Regions from separate parts of the Homo sapiens genome. Here regions 2, 3, 4 and 5 are each linked to region 1. The links are contacts of gene promoters, found by promoter capture Hi-C in blood cells and fetal thymus (Javierre and others, 2016). All regions are on one chromosome and are shown on one strand. Each heading gives the region's core, a stretch centred on a gene start or on the middle of the fragment in contact. The rest is flanking DNA. Distances are from core to core; before and after follow the strand shown. Region 1 holds the start of RRAGA (Ras related GTP binding A). Region 2 overlaps ACER2 (alkaline ceramidase 2). Region 3 overlaps ACER2 (alkaline ceramidase 2). Region 4 overlaps DENND4C (DENN domain containing 4C). Region 5 overlaps DENND4C (DENN domain containing 4C).

Evidence for each region. Contacts are between HindIII fragments. The CHiCAGO score rates a contact against its expected background, and 5 or more counts as called.
Region 2: a fragment that was not itself captured here is called in contact with the fragment with the promoter of RRAGA in region 1 in 11 of 17 cell types (activated CD4 T cells, non-activated CD4 T cells, total CD4 T cells and 8 more); the score reaches 11.0 in activated CD4 T cells.
Region 3: a fragment that was not itself captured here is called in contact with the fragment with the promoter of RRAGA in region 1 in 12 of 17 cell types (naive B cells, total B cells, total CD8 T cells and 9 more); the score reaches 12.7 in naive B cells.
Region 4: a contact is called between a fragment that was not itself captured here and the fragment with the promoter of RRAGA in region 1, in 6 of 17 cell types (total B cells, naive CD4 T cells, activated CD4 T cells and 3 more). The highest score is 7.2, in total B cells.
Region 5: a contact is called between a fragment that was not itself captured here and the fragment with the promoter of RRAGA in region 1, in 6 of 17 cell types (M0 macrophages, non-activated CD4 T cells, naive CD8 T cells and 3 more). The highest score is 6.7, in M0 macrophages.

Annotation. Positions count from the first base shown.
Region 1 is chr9:19,048,086-19,050,785 of GRCh38, reverse strand. RRAGA (Ras related GTP binding A) reads right to left here and starts at 1,359. Exons shown (of 1, transcript NM_006570.5): 1 at 1-1,359. The coding sequence starts at 1,126. The coding sequence ends at 185. It also overlaps a transcript of SAXO1 not described here. RefSeq lists a silencer at 1,101-1,290 and an enhancer at 898-1,419. The HindIII fragment of the contact is 15,757 bases long and covers 1-2,700 here.
Region 2 is chr9:19,448,291-19,450,990 of GRCh38, reverse strand. ACER2 (alkaline ceramidase 2) reads right to left here. Exons shown (of 6, transcript NM_001010887.3): 6 at 1-541. The coding sequence ends at 355. Among named protein-coding and RNA genes, the nearest start is that of MAP1LC3BP1, 14 kb to the left of the region's middle. The HindIII fragment of the contact is 9,286 bases long and covers 1-2,700 here.
Region 3 is chr9:19,428,779-19,431,478 of GRCh38, reverse strand. All of the region lies in intron 3 of ACER2 (alkaline ceramidase 2), which reads right to left. Among named protein-coding and RNA genes, the nearest start is that of ACER2, 21 kb to the right of the region's middle. The HindIII fragment of the contact is 196 bases long and covers 1,301-1,496 here.
Region 4 is chr9:19,351,704-19,354,403 of GRCh38, reverse strand. DENND4C (DENN domain containing 4C) reads right to left here. Exons shown (of 33, transcript NM_001330640.2): 25 at 2,222-2,331; 26 at 1,739-1,914. Among named protein-coding and RNA genes, the nearest start is that of RPS6, 27 kb to the left of the region's middle. The HindIII fragment of the contact is 5,968 bases long and covers 1-2,700 here.
Region 5 is chr9:19,321,182-19,323,881 of GRCh38, reverse strand. All of the region lies in intron 12 of DENND4C (DENN domain containing 4C), which reads right to left. Among named protein-coding and RNA genes, the nearest start is that of RPS6, 58 kb to the left of the region's middle. The HindIII fragment of the contact is 3,316 bases long and covers 1-2,700 here.

The sequences.
Region 1 (2,700 bases), core at 110-2,609:
ACTGGGTAGCTGAGTAAATAGCGTCCAATGTTTAAAGACTGGGGAAGCGGGGAGAAAGATGAAAGGAGTAAGCAGCACACACTTCAAAGCCCACTTTTAAGCACACGACATTATGAATATTAAAAATAAAGGATGCAAACAAAAAAGGCAATTCAGCATTTTCAGAAAGAGCATTTGGCAATATTCAACGCATAAGGAGACTGTGCTTGGGGCCATCCACTCTCTCCAGCTTCTCAAAGTGTTTCCGGGCATTGCGAATGTTGATCAGAGTGGCCGCAGAAGGGATCGACGGATCTGACATGACCACCATCACGTACGTATTTGAGGTGAAGATGTCGATGAAAGCAGCGAAGTTGGAATTCCTAACTTCCATGCTCTGGAAGGAAGCGGCCAATTTACTGCAGCTCAGCTTGAACTGTTTGATGATGTTGCTGATCTTCTCAAACCGGTGGACGTCGCGCTGCTCTTTGCACTGGTAGTGGGAAATAACCAAGAATGTAGCTCTTTCGAACAGCAGAACTTCATCGGCCTCAATGATTTGGGCAAAATTCCTGAGGTTCATCTCCAGCTGCTGAACGTTGGGAATCAGCTGGTAGACGATGCTGGACCAGGCTTTGTAGAGCGTCTCATCCCAGATGGACGTTCGAAAACAAGCACACTCCAGCGGGCGAGACAGACGCCTCAGGTCTTCCTCTCGCTCTTTAAAAATCAGGTCACGCTGATCCTCCTGAACCAGATCCATTTTGTGCACCAGGCAGAAGATTTTGGCGTCAGGAGAGTTCTGGAGGATGGCCTCCAGACACGACTGGTAATAATGCATGTCCTTTTCCAGTTCGCGGCTCTCCACGTCAAACACGTAAATCAAAACTTCCACGTTACGGAAGATATTGTCTCGCTGGCTGGTGAAGTAATTTTCCATGAAGGTGTCCTGACCGCCACAGTCCCACAGGTTCAGCACCAGGTTCCCTAGGAATCGGACGTGGGAGTGTTCCACGTCAATGGTGGCCCCCAGGCGCCGGGTGTCGCGAGCAATGTAATTGGCGAAGATTATCGACCTCATGCTGGTCTTCCCCGACCCGCTCTTCCCCATCAGCAGCACCTTTTTCTTCATGGCTGTATTTGGCATCACCCGCCGGGGCACCGCGGACTGGGCCTGAGGGCGCGGCCTACACGCAGCGCCGAGGGAGGGGTCGGGGGCTGCCGGGGACTCGCAGGCCGCGCCTCGCTCCGCTCCGCCGCGCAGCTGGGCAGGCAGGAGAGTCGAGAGCGCGAACCCGGGGCTGGAGAGGCCGCGGACGGGCTGGCTCTTACTCAGATGGGAGCGCCCGCGGCTGTCAGTGGCAACGGCTCGGGAGATACGCTCGCTTTCCGGGAGGGAGCCGCTGCGTCCCCGCCACCACCCACTTCCGGCGGCGATCTCGCGAGAGCTCCCTCGCTCCGCCCTCCGTGCCCGACGAGCCTTGAAAAGCCGCTGCTCTAATGAAACCTAACCGGGGCGGCGTGAGCCCTAAGATGGAAGGGAAGCTCGAGGACTTCGGTCTTTTGTTCTGTTGCAGCTGGGTTTGCTGTTGCTAGGGGTACGTGTGTGGTTGGCCGGGGGAAATGCTGCCCTCTCGTGGCCAAAAAAAGCCCCAACCGCCACCACCACCGCAACTGGCTTTAGGAGCGAGGTGTGTCGGGCCGGTTTCCGCAGGGGCAGCCGACTGGTGAAGTGGAGGGAAAGCCTAACTTCCCAGTCCGCTTAGGCCTCCCCAGCTTGCCCGGCCCAGTGAGTACAAGGGCAGGGCAGATGGAGACTGTGCAGGCGCGGAAAGTGAGACTTGTAGGCAAGCGATTGCCTGTTGCTGCGCAGCTAGGTAATAGCAAGTCCCTCCTAGGAGACATCCTGGCTTCCAGTGGGTGCTTTTAATTCCTTTCTCACATCTGCTTTTCCGTAATCTCAGACTTTAGAATTTATAATTAGAATTCCAAAGCTCGAGGAAATGATAATGTGGAATCCCAGGCATTAGTTCCATCCTCACAGTAACCCTGTGAATTAATAACCCTATTTTCAAGTTAGGGAATCAAAGGTTAGAGAGGTTAAGTCACTTGACCAAGTTACACAGATACTAAATGATGAAATGGAATTTGGTTTTAGACAATCTTGCTGCGGTCTATTTGCCTAACAATAGGCTACCCTGTGCCCCTCTCAAAGCATAATATGATTCTGCTCTTGGTCTTCAAGTAGATGAGTGAATCAGTGTCGCCAGTATCGTTCATACAGAATGAATGAGAGTCATCAGGATACTGAAGCCTCTGTATCTACCTTAAAGTCCTTTTTTTTTCTTTTGAGACGGAGTCTCACTCTGTTGCCCAGGCTGGAGTGCAGTGGCGCGATCTCAGCTCACTGCAACCTACGCCTCCTGAGTTCAAGCGATTCTCCTGCCTCAGTCCCCCAAATAGCTGGGATTGTGGGCACCTGCCACCACGCCCGGCTAATTTTTGTATTTTTAGTGGAGACGGGGTTTCACTATGTTGGCCAGGCTGGTCTGGAACTCAAGCCAGCCACCTGCCTCGGCCTCCTAAAGTGTGGGATTACAGGCGTGAGCCACCGTGCCTGGCCTAAAGCCCTTATCAAAGTGTATACTGTACTGTACAAATTCAGGTATTCCATTCTTTCATTTATTCAAAAAATATTTTAATTCCTACTGTTAACGTGTG
Region 2 (2,700 bases), core at 54-2,553, 400 kb before region 1:
GACACATTAGGGAGGAGGAGGGGACCTTTTTAAAAATTACACAAAATCCAGAAATCCTAAAGAAAAGATTAACAGATGTGACAACATGAAAGTTTAAAACCAGTATGGCACAAAAATATTAACATACTGAAAGACAAATGGGAAACTGCAGGGGGGCAGGGAATATTTGTACCATATGACAAAGTTTAAATCCCTACATACAAAGAACACTAAAGAAATTAAGAGCCCCAGCAAATAGATTTTTGAAAAGATAGCCCACACCCCAACTATTCGAACTCCCTTGGCTGTCTTCCTAGCAAAGGAAGCCCACTGCATGAGGGGCGATAAGCAGAGAAGCCAGCCACCATCTTGCCATCACGTGATCTTGACTGATGATTTCTTGTTGGCACACAGGAGGGACACATAGGGGACACCAATGAAGGCCCATTTCTCATTGGGCCAGAACTTGATGACAGGGCCTTGCTCAGGAATCTCTGAGGCAGCATCAAAGTAGGCAAAGCATACACAGCCCAGGTAGGCAGCAAGGCAGATGAGGATGTGCCTGCAGAGGGAGACAAGAGGTGAGAACCTGATGAGCATGAAGACTCCGCTGCCCTGAGTTTAGCCTGCTCCTTCTTCCGGTCTAACCCACGCACCTTGCTGACTGTAGTTGCAGCCCAGGGGCCTCTTCTAATTAGGAAAGGATGAAGATTACCAACAATCCCTGGAATAGCAGGATGATAAATCTTCAGCAATTTGGGACCCGTTTTAGAATGTTCTTAAATAGTCCTGCTGGATAATAGGAACAAATGTGCAAATAAATGCCTTTGGGCCTCAAACAAGAAGACTGAGGCCCAAGGATTTACAACAGAGATGCTAAGATGGAAGTAACTGAGCACATCTGATTAGAACCCACCTTCTCACTTTAACAACTGGTTACAGATATTTTATGTCCTTCATCAGGAATAATTTTATGTTGGTTAAACCACTTTTGCAGTTTAGTGGAAATTTTAAAAAATTTATCCTCACTGTACCTGTACAAAGTTTTAAATTTATATTAAACTTTATCGAACAATAGACCATTTAAAAGCATGTAATCCTTTTTTTTTTTTTTTTTTTTTAAATGAAGTCTCACCCTGTCATCCAGGCTGGAGTGCAATGGTGCAATCTCGGCTCACTGCAACCTCTGCCTCCTGGGTTCAAGCAATTCTCCTGCCTCAGCCTCCCAAGTAGCTGGGATTACAGGCACCCACCACCAGGCCCACCTAGCTAATTTTTGTATTTTTAGTAGAGAGGGAGGGGGTTTCACCATGTTGGCCAGGCTGGTCTTGAACTCCTGACCTCAGGTAATCCACCTGCCTCGGCCTCCCAAAGTGCTGGGATTACAGTCGTAAGCCACTGCGCCCAGCCCAAAGACAATATTTTTATAAACTTTGATGTTGGGGAGGAGGGGATCTTTTTAAAAATTACACAAAATCCAGAAATCCTATAGAAAAGATTAACAGATGTGACAATATGAAAGTTTAAAACCAGTATGGCACAAAAATATTAATATACTGAAAGACAAATGAGAAACTGCAGGGGGGCAGGGAATATTTGTACCATATGACAAAGTTTAAATCCCTACATACAAAGAACACTAAAGAAATTAATCAGGGTCAGGGTGGGAAGTAGGTGAGAATGGTATGAACCAGATTGGCCTCGTGTTGATAGTTATGGAATCTGGGTGTTGCCTATATGGGGGTTCAATGTATTATTCTCTGTACTTGTGAAAATGTTGCAAATATGCATAAGTGGCACATAGTTACGTAGCTAGTAATGACTGTCTACTATGTGCCAAGCCTAGATGCTGAATATAAACTGTTTTATTTTTTATTTTTTGGAGACGGGGTCTCACTCTGTTGCTCAGGCTAGAGTACAGTGGCACAATCTCAGCTCACTTCAATCTCCGCCTCCCAGGTTCAAACGATTCTCCTGCCTCAACCTCCCAAATAGCTGGGACTACATGCACATCCGGCTAATTTTTTGCATTTTTAGTAGAGACGGGGTTTCACCGTGTTAGCCAGGATGGTCTCGATCTCCTGACCTGGTGATCCACCTGCCTCGGCCTCCCAAAGTGCTGAGATTACGGGCGTGAGCCACCACGCCCGGCTGATATGAACTTTTAAAAATAGAAACACTCAATAGACCAGACAAAGAAAATTAAAAGGGGAAATACACATCACAAATTGACATTTGAAAAGATGCCCAACAAAAATACTAATTTTTTAAAAAGACATAATAATAAAAACAAAATATAATTTTTCTCAAACAGGTTAATGGAGATTTAAGAGTTTCCAGTATATGTGAAAGTGTGGGTAAAAAATGCTCTCTTACAGACTTCAGTAAACAGTGTTAATGGTACAGTTTCTCTGGATTTAGCAATATATAATATTAATTTAACATATGAAAATATTCAGAAACTCAAATCAATCTAGATGTTCATTATAAAGTGTTTGCAAAAGTGGAAAATTAGAAATAACCTCAAAGTCCGTTATCAGAGAGAGGTTGGTTAAATAAATTATAAAGTGTCCATATTATGAAGCATTTATTAGACACAAAAATGAAGATTATATATATGTATTGGTATGGAATGATGTCTGTATAGCATTAGATCTATGTAGTATAGATTTAAGTATTTGGTTAAAAAAAAAGTTTGGGCCAGGCTCAATGGCTCATGCC
Region 3 (2,700 bases), core at 149-2,648, 380 kb before region 1:
GTCCAGAGTGCGTCACCTCTCTGTACCCAAAGTGCATCACCTCTCTGTACCCAGCGGTTTAAGAATTACGCACAGGTCAGAGAGGGTAACAGAGTGATTCAAGGCATAGGTGTTCCAGTGAGACCGATATGCATTCAAATCCTGCCTCCATTGCTTAGTAGCTGTGAGACCTTTGGCAAGTAACTCAACTCTTTGAGCCTTTCCCACATAAAAATTAAGACACTCTGCCTCACAGTGTTTTTGTAAGCATTAACACAGTGCCCAGTACATATTATGTACTAATAAAATTCATTATTACTGTTATCCTTACCATCATTTTAAATATAAATACCACTTTAAATAATATTATTGTTGTTGATATCATACTCTCAGGGAAAACGTAACTGAGCTGCTGTTGCAATCACCAAAGGCTCCACAGAGTACTGCCAAATGGTTTAAAGGCAGTAAGCTTGAAAAAAACATGGGTTTTTGTTGTTGTTGTTGTTTGGTTTTGTTGGGTTTTTTGTTTTTTTGTTTTTTTTGAGACAGAGTCTCACTCTGTCACCCAGGCTGGAGAGCAGTGGTGCGATCTCAGCTCACTGAAACCTCTGCCTCCTGGGTTCAAGCGATTCTCCTGCCTCAGCCTCCGGAGTAGCTGGGATTACAGGCACCTGCCACCACCCTAAGCTAATTTATGTATTTTTAGTAGAGATGGGGTTTCACCATGCTGGCCAGGCTAGTCTCAAACTCCTGACCTCAGGTGATCCACCTGCCTCAGCCTCCCAAAGTGCTGAGATTACAGGCATGAGCTACTGCACCCAGCTGCAAAACATGCTTTCTTTAGGGAGGCCATCTGCAGATGCCTCCCCACGTCAAGTCCAGAAGGTGTACAGGAATGTGCTGGCCAACAAGGACATCCTGTGAACACAAGCAGCCGGGAGAAGTAAACAGAGGCTATGTGGCCAGCAGAAAACCAGTCAGCCAGCCCAGCAGACCCCAGAGTCAACAGAGGCCCTGGGTACAAGAGAGCTAGAAATATCCAGGAGTAAGAGGCCCCAACAGGGTGTTTTTCTAAACTGTGATTGATGACAGCCTCTGGTCCTGTTTTCAACTTTCCAGCCCATTAGGGTCTCACACTGAAACACAAGGTCAGGAAACCCTTAGCATCACTGCTTCCTGTATTCTCTAATCCAAAATCTAACAACCCAGTACCATCATCAAAATATTTTTATAGTAAAGCTGTTACTGTTATCATTTACTACCCTTTAAAGTAGTGGTTTTCAAGCCTATAGCCTGTGTCCCTTTTAACCAAAGTAAAGCTTTGTTTTCAGACTTGAAAACCACTATCATTGGCTTTTTTACACAGTAAAAAGGGACACAGGGTATAGGCTTGAAAACCACTATCATTGGCTACTCTTTAAAGCAGTGATAATTTCATTTCATTTCTGAAATGAAATGAAATTTATAGATGATAAAACCTCCCATCGTAATGACCACCAAAAACATGTCCACAAGCTTTATAAATGTCTCATAAGAACTGGAAATGTCCCTGGTTAAGATCCACTGCTATAAGCTACCAAAACATAATCTATTTAGAACAGCCAGCCCTTGATAGTTACAGCAATATAGCATTTGGTCATGAAACGGACCTCAGAGAGCTACTTCAACCCTGTTATTTTATAACTAAAGCACTAAGGCCCAGAGAGTTTAAGATTCCAGCCTCAACTCATCCAGGAAGAATGCTAGCAGGGCGGGCAGATCCCAGACTGCTCCCTTGCTATTCAAGATTCAAAAAATAAAGTGGATTTTATCTAAAGATAAAATCATAAAAACTATAGCAGAATAAATTATTTAAGAAGTGGATACAAGGTTGGGCACAGTGGCTCATGCCTGTTATCCCAGAACTTTGGGAGGCCAAGGTGGGAGTATCTCTTGAGCCCAGGAGTTTGAGACCAGCCTGGGCAACATGGTAAAACCTTGTCTCTACAAAAAATACAAAAATTAGCCAGGTGCAGTGACAGGCAGCTGTGGTCCCAGCCACTTGGAAGGCTGAGGTAGGAGGATCACTTGAGCGCAGGAAGCAGAGGTTGCAGTGAGCCATGACTGTGCCACTGCACTCCAGCCTGGGCAACAGAGTGAGATCCTGTCTCCAAAAAACAAAACAAAAAAAGTAGATACAATTAGCCTATAATAGTTCCTTGTTCTCATTTTTTTCTTAAAATAAAAACTCTAAAAATTATTAATAACCATCAGCAATTCAGTATATGTCCTAAAGAGTCTCAGGACATTTTAGGCAAGATGAAAGAAAGTTTTTTTCTATAAACCCAACATTTATATCCTATTGACATAATGAACATTAATAATTTCCCTACATAAAATATGTACAACTATTACATATCAATAAAAAATTCAGGCCAGGCACAGTGGCTCATGCCTGTAATCCCAGCACTTTGGGAGGCCGAGGCGAGCGGATCATGAGGTCAGGAGTTCGAGACCAGCCTGGCCAACCTGGTGAAACCCTGTCTCTACTAAAAATACAAAAATTAGCTGGGCATGGTGGCAAGTGCCTGTAATTCTAGCTACTTGGGAGGCTGAGGCAGGAGAATCATTTGAACCCAGGAGGCAGAGGTTGTAGTCAGCCAAGATCGCACCACCGCTCTCTAGCCTGGGTGACAGAGCAAGACTTCATCTCAAAAAAAAAAAAAAAAAAAAAAAAAAAAA
Region 4 (2,700 bases), core at 71-2,570, 300 kb before region 1:
CAGCCGTCTAGGAAGCAATATTTTGTGTTTACTAAAATCATGTATGAAAATGATCTTACTCCAAGGATTATCGTTTTCTTAGAGAAACTACTTCACAAGTCCAAAAGGGGACATGTATTTTGCAGTGCACTGCATTACTACCGTGGTGTTTGTAGTAACAGAGAACTGAAAGTAACTGAAGTACCCAACACTAGAATAATGGATAAGTAGAAAGGTATATTAACTTCCTGTAGAAGAAAAGGAATAAACTAGATGTACATATAGTAACCCAGATTTAAAATAGAGCAATAAAAAGAAGTAAATTTAGATATATATCACACTTAGCAGAGTCAGTGTCTTCGTAGAATAGGGGAATGAGGGTGGGAATGAGGAAAGGAGGATAAACACGAGAGGGCCCTTGCACAGTCCAAAGATGATAGTGTGTCAGGAATTAAAGAGTATGATTTGACTTAGCTCCACCCTTGAAGCTAAAAGAAAAAACAGAGAAGAAACACCTCTACAATTAAATGGTGTGATTTCAGCTCACTGCAACCTTCGCCTCCTGGGTTCAAACCATTTTCCTGCCTCAGCCTCCTGGTTGCTGGGACTACAGGCATGTGCCATGGTGTCGGGCTAACCTTTTTTGTATTTTTTTGTAGAGATGGGGTTTTGCCATGTTGCCCAGGCTGGTCTCGAACTCCTGACCTCAAGTGATCTGCCTGCCTCGGCCTCCCAAAGTACTGGGATTACAGGCATGAGCCATCATGCCCAGCCTAAATGTTTTTGTTGTTTTTTCAGAGACAGAGTCTCTCTCTGTCACCCAGACTGGAGTGCAGTGGTGCAATCTCAGCTCACTGCAACCTCCACCTCCCAGGTTCAAGCAATTCTCCTGCCTCAGCCTCCCGGGTGCCTGGGACTACAGGCGCACGCCGCCACACCTGGCTAATCTTTTGTATTTTAGTAGAGACAGGGTTTCACTGTGTTGCCCAGGCTGGTCTCGAACTCCTGAGCTCAGGCAATCCACCTGTCTGGGCCTCCCAAAGTGCTAGGATTAAGGTGTGAGCCACCACACCTGGCAGTGTATTTTTTTTAAAGCAGCTAAAGGCAGGAAATAAAAAGTTCAATTTGTTCCATAAAATGAATGGAATATTAAGTATAATTCCCTAGGTCAGCACAGAGTCACCAAACTCTCAATTATTTTATGTATAATTATAGATCAGCTAGTCTTATATCTATTGCCTAGAATTTGGTCATTTCACTGCACAGAATACTACTAGGACGTGCAAGTGACAAGAGAAGAGTTGAAGCCTTTTTTTCCCCTTTGTTTCTTCTAAAATATATACTCACTGCAGCTTCAAACTCCTGGGCTCACGCGATCCTCCTATGTCAGCCTTCCTAGTAACTGCTACCACAGGTGCACACTACCATGCCCAGCTAATTTTAAAAAATCTTTTGTAGAGACAGGGTCTTGCCATGTTGCCCAGGCTGGTCTTGAACTCCTGACCTCAAGCAATCCTCCCACCTGGGCCTCGCAAAGTGTTGAGATTACAGCATGAGCCACGGAGCCCGGCTGATAATCTTACTTTAAATAAAATGGAAAAGTAGACTCCCACATTACTAGTATTTGCTACTCAAATACTGAAGGTGAAGGACAGACAGGAAGGCAGACCTGGAGCATACCAGGAATATTTCACTCTTCTCCCAGAAGTCGTGTTTTTTGAGGGTACTTACTTCTTGAGAGAGCTTTTATAAGACTAACCTTGCAGAACCTCTCAAATCTTTGAATTCTATATTGAGAAGAGGCAAGAAGTTGCTTTTACAGAATGGACAAGCTGTATTCAAATTTGAGTCATCTGCTGTCCATCCAGCCATAATTTCTTCATCATAAACTAAAGCTCCACAAGCTCTACACTGTGAACAACTGGACATCAAAACCTAAAAACAGAAAAATGCAGACACTGAGAACGTTTAATAAAAATTAATCTTAACAGGAATTCTCTTGAGATAATGGGATTTTTTTTATTCTACTGATCAAATTTGGAATTATTAATAACAGTTCTTTTATTTCACAGGTAAACTACCAGTTCAATGTCTTACTTACATAAGACATCAAGCAAATTCAACAAAATGACTTATTTTATTATACTGTCCACAAGGGTATCTTAGAATCCTGTTAAATGCCATTCTGAAATAAAAATATGCTTACAGCTACTTTATCATGAACTGAATATAGAACTTTTACCTCCATTGCACAATTCTGATAGATGCTAGACATGCTGGTATTTTGAGAAGAACCATGATCTGATTTTTCAAAGTCTTGCCCTTTCATGCCTCTTGGAAATGGAACTTCACCTACAAAGGAATATACATCGTAATACCTTAAGTAAGGAATGTCCTTGTTTTTTGAAAATGCATGCCAAAGTATTTAGGGGGGACACAGAATAAAGTCTGCAACTGTTTTTCAAGTGGCTCAGTATAAAAATGTATGCATACATAGAAAGAGATAAAGTTAACAATAGTTAATTAAATCTAGGTGGAAAATACATGATTGTTCATTATACGATTCTTTCAACTTTCAGGACATTTGAAATTTTTTTTTCTTTTCTTTTTTTTTTTTTTAGATGGAGTCTCGCTCTGTTGCCCAGGCTAGAGTGCAGTGGTACAATCTCGGCTCACTGCAACCTCTGCCTCCCAGGTTCAAGTGATTCTCCTGCCTCCGCC
Region 5 (2,700 bases), core at 63-2,562, 270 kb before region 1:
GGTAACTGCATATATAGCTCCTTCTGCCTAATTAAACCACGAAAAATACTTCTATCAAACTCTTCACTGAAATCTAAATCCCCTATAAGGAACCTCCAGCTCTACAACTTTTAAGTAGAAATTTCTCTGATACTCTGCATACTCTTGAGTCCATGGTCAATTTCCAAAGAGTCAATGTCCTTCCTCTTTAATGTTGCAAGACCATTATTTCTGTATTGTGTTTTTAAAATTTCTGCTCATTAAAGTTTCAAGCATCTGACTATTCCACAATTTCCTCTATTAATCGTAGACATCTATTGATTTCAGGGACACTCCTTCATTCACTGAAGACCAAGGCATCTGATTCAAGGTCTCCTCCTTTCTAATTCCTACCACCATCATTCTTCCACACCCAGAAGCACAAACCATGAAAACACTTTAGATTCTTCTTCATTCCTTTTTTTTTTTTTTTCCAGACAGAGTCTAGCTCTGTCGCCCAGGCTGGAGTGCAGTAATGTGATCTTGGCTCACTGCAACCTCTGCCTCCCAGGTTTAAGTGATTCTCCTGCCTCAGCCTCCTGAGTAGCTGGGATTACAGGTGCCCATCACCACGACTGGCTAATTTTTGTATTTTTAGTAGAGACGGTTTCACCATGTTGGCCAGGCTGGTCTTGAACGGACCTCAGGTGATCAGCCCGCCTTGGCCTCCCAAAGTTCTGGGATTACAGGCGTGAGCCACTGCACCTAGCCTCTTTTCTTTTAAGAGATGGGTGTCTTGCTATGTTGACAAGGCTGGTCTCGAATTCCTGGCCTCAAGTGATCCTCCCATCTCAGCCTCCCAAAGTGCTAGAATTACAGGCATGAGCCATCATGCCCAGCCTTCATTCCTTGATTTTCAGTGATCCTATGCTCCATCCTACCTCAATCACCAACTTCAACACACAGTCACAGTCCCTTGACTTTCCTTGCCAGCATTCAAAACAACATTGCCTCTCAAATCTCTTTTTCACATCACTCCCAGCCCATTAGCTCTGCCTATCTGGTCTCCTTAATTAAGTATTTCTACTAAGTGTTTTAGGGTTTTTTGGGTTTTTTGTGCAGGGAGCAGAGAGGGAAGGCTCATGGAAATCTCCAATCCACTGGCCCCCTTATTTTTTTTTTTTTTTTTTTTGAGATGAAGTCTCACTGTATTGCCCAGGCTGGAGTGCAGTCAATCTTGGCTCACTGCAAGCTCTGCCTCCCGGGTTCATGCCATTCTCCTGCCTCAGCCTCCTGAGAAGCTGGGACTACAGGCGCCCGCCACCACGCCTGGCTAATTTTTCACTGTGTTAGCCAGGATGGTCTCCATCTCCTGACCTCGTGATCCGCCCACCTCGGCCTCCGAAAGTGCGGGGATTACAGGCCTGAGCCACCGCGCCTGGCCTCCACTGGCCCTTTTACTTCTATGTACATCCTCCCATCTTCACTTCTTTCTCCGTCCAATACTGATTCCATGCTATATCCATCATTTCAATTACTGTTTTGTCAATACTCTCAACCCCTCTGCTCTTTTGTCTTTTTGGTTAAACCTACCTAGCATAACCCAGCTCTGGAGGAATGTACTACTTGCCTTCTCTGGATCTGCATTAGGGTGGCTGAGCACAAGTTAAGGGGAAAAAAAGTTCCACAACTAGGCAGATCAGAAGCACTTATACCTTCATCCCTCACCAACAACCCTACTACATTTCTGGAATCAATTTAATTTTCCTCTTCACATGTTTTCACAACTATTTCCAATTTGTATGCGCTCTCCCTTCATGTTTTTTGTGCCCCCTCCGCACCCCGAAATGAGCATACTTCAGTGCAATGAAAATGCAGATCATTAAATAGAAACTATGTACACTATCTCACTACATAATTTATGACTCTTTAACAGCTATCCTTTATTCCTTCTGCCTTTTTACAGTGGATATGTCCCTCCTCCTATCTAAGGACAAACCATCACATGACTTCAGGATTCCAGCCCCTTCCAGTGTTCTCAGGATAAATCTCCCTCTCTATTAGCTATTTCTCTTTTTTTTTTTTTTTTTTTGAGATGGAGTCTCACTCTATTACCCAGGCTGGCGTTCAGTGGCGTGATCTCGGCTCACTACAACCTCCACCTCCCAGGTTCGAGTGATTCTCCTGCCTCAGCCTCCTGAGTAGCTGGGACTACAGGCATGCGCTAATTTTTGTATTTTTAGTAGAGACAGGGTTTCGCCATGTTTGCCAGGCTGATCTCAAACTCCTGACCTCAAGTGATCCACCTGCCTCAGCCTCCCAAAATGCTGGGATTACAGGCGTGAGCCACTGCGTCTGGCCTCTATTAGCTATTTCTCATCAGCATACTCAAGTCTCTTTTTTCCATCTAAAAAACAAAAACAAAAACAAAACAAAACAAAACAAAAAAAAAAACCTTCGATCTGCTCCTTCCCTTTTTTCTGTTGTTTTACTTCTTATAAAGGGCATGGCCATTCACTTGGTTGTTAAAGGCAAAAACCTCAAAGGTGCTCTTGATATCTCCCACTCTACCTTACATTCCATATTCAATCACCAGGTTCTACTCAATCTAATTCCTAAAAAAATCACTCTTCTATTCACACTATCATCAATTAATCCAGGTCACCTCTAATAATCCCTAGAACCAATGTGACAACTTCCTAATTAGTAGATCCATGCTTCAATGTCTCCAGTGCAATCTCT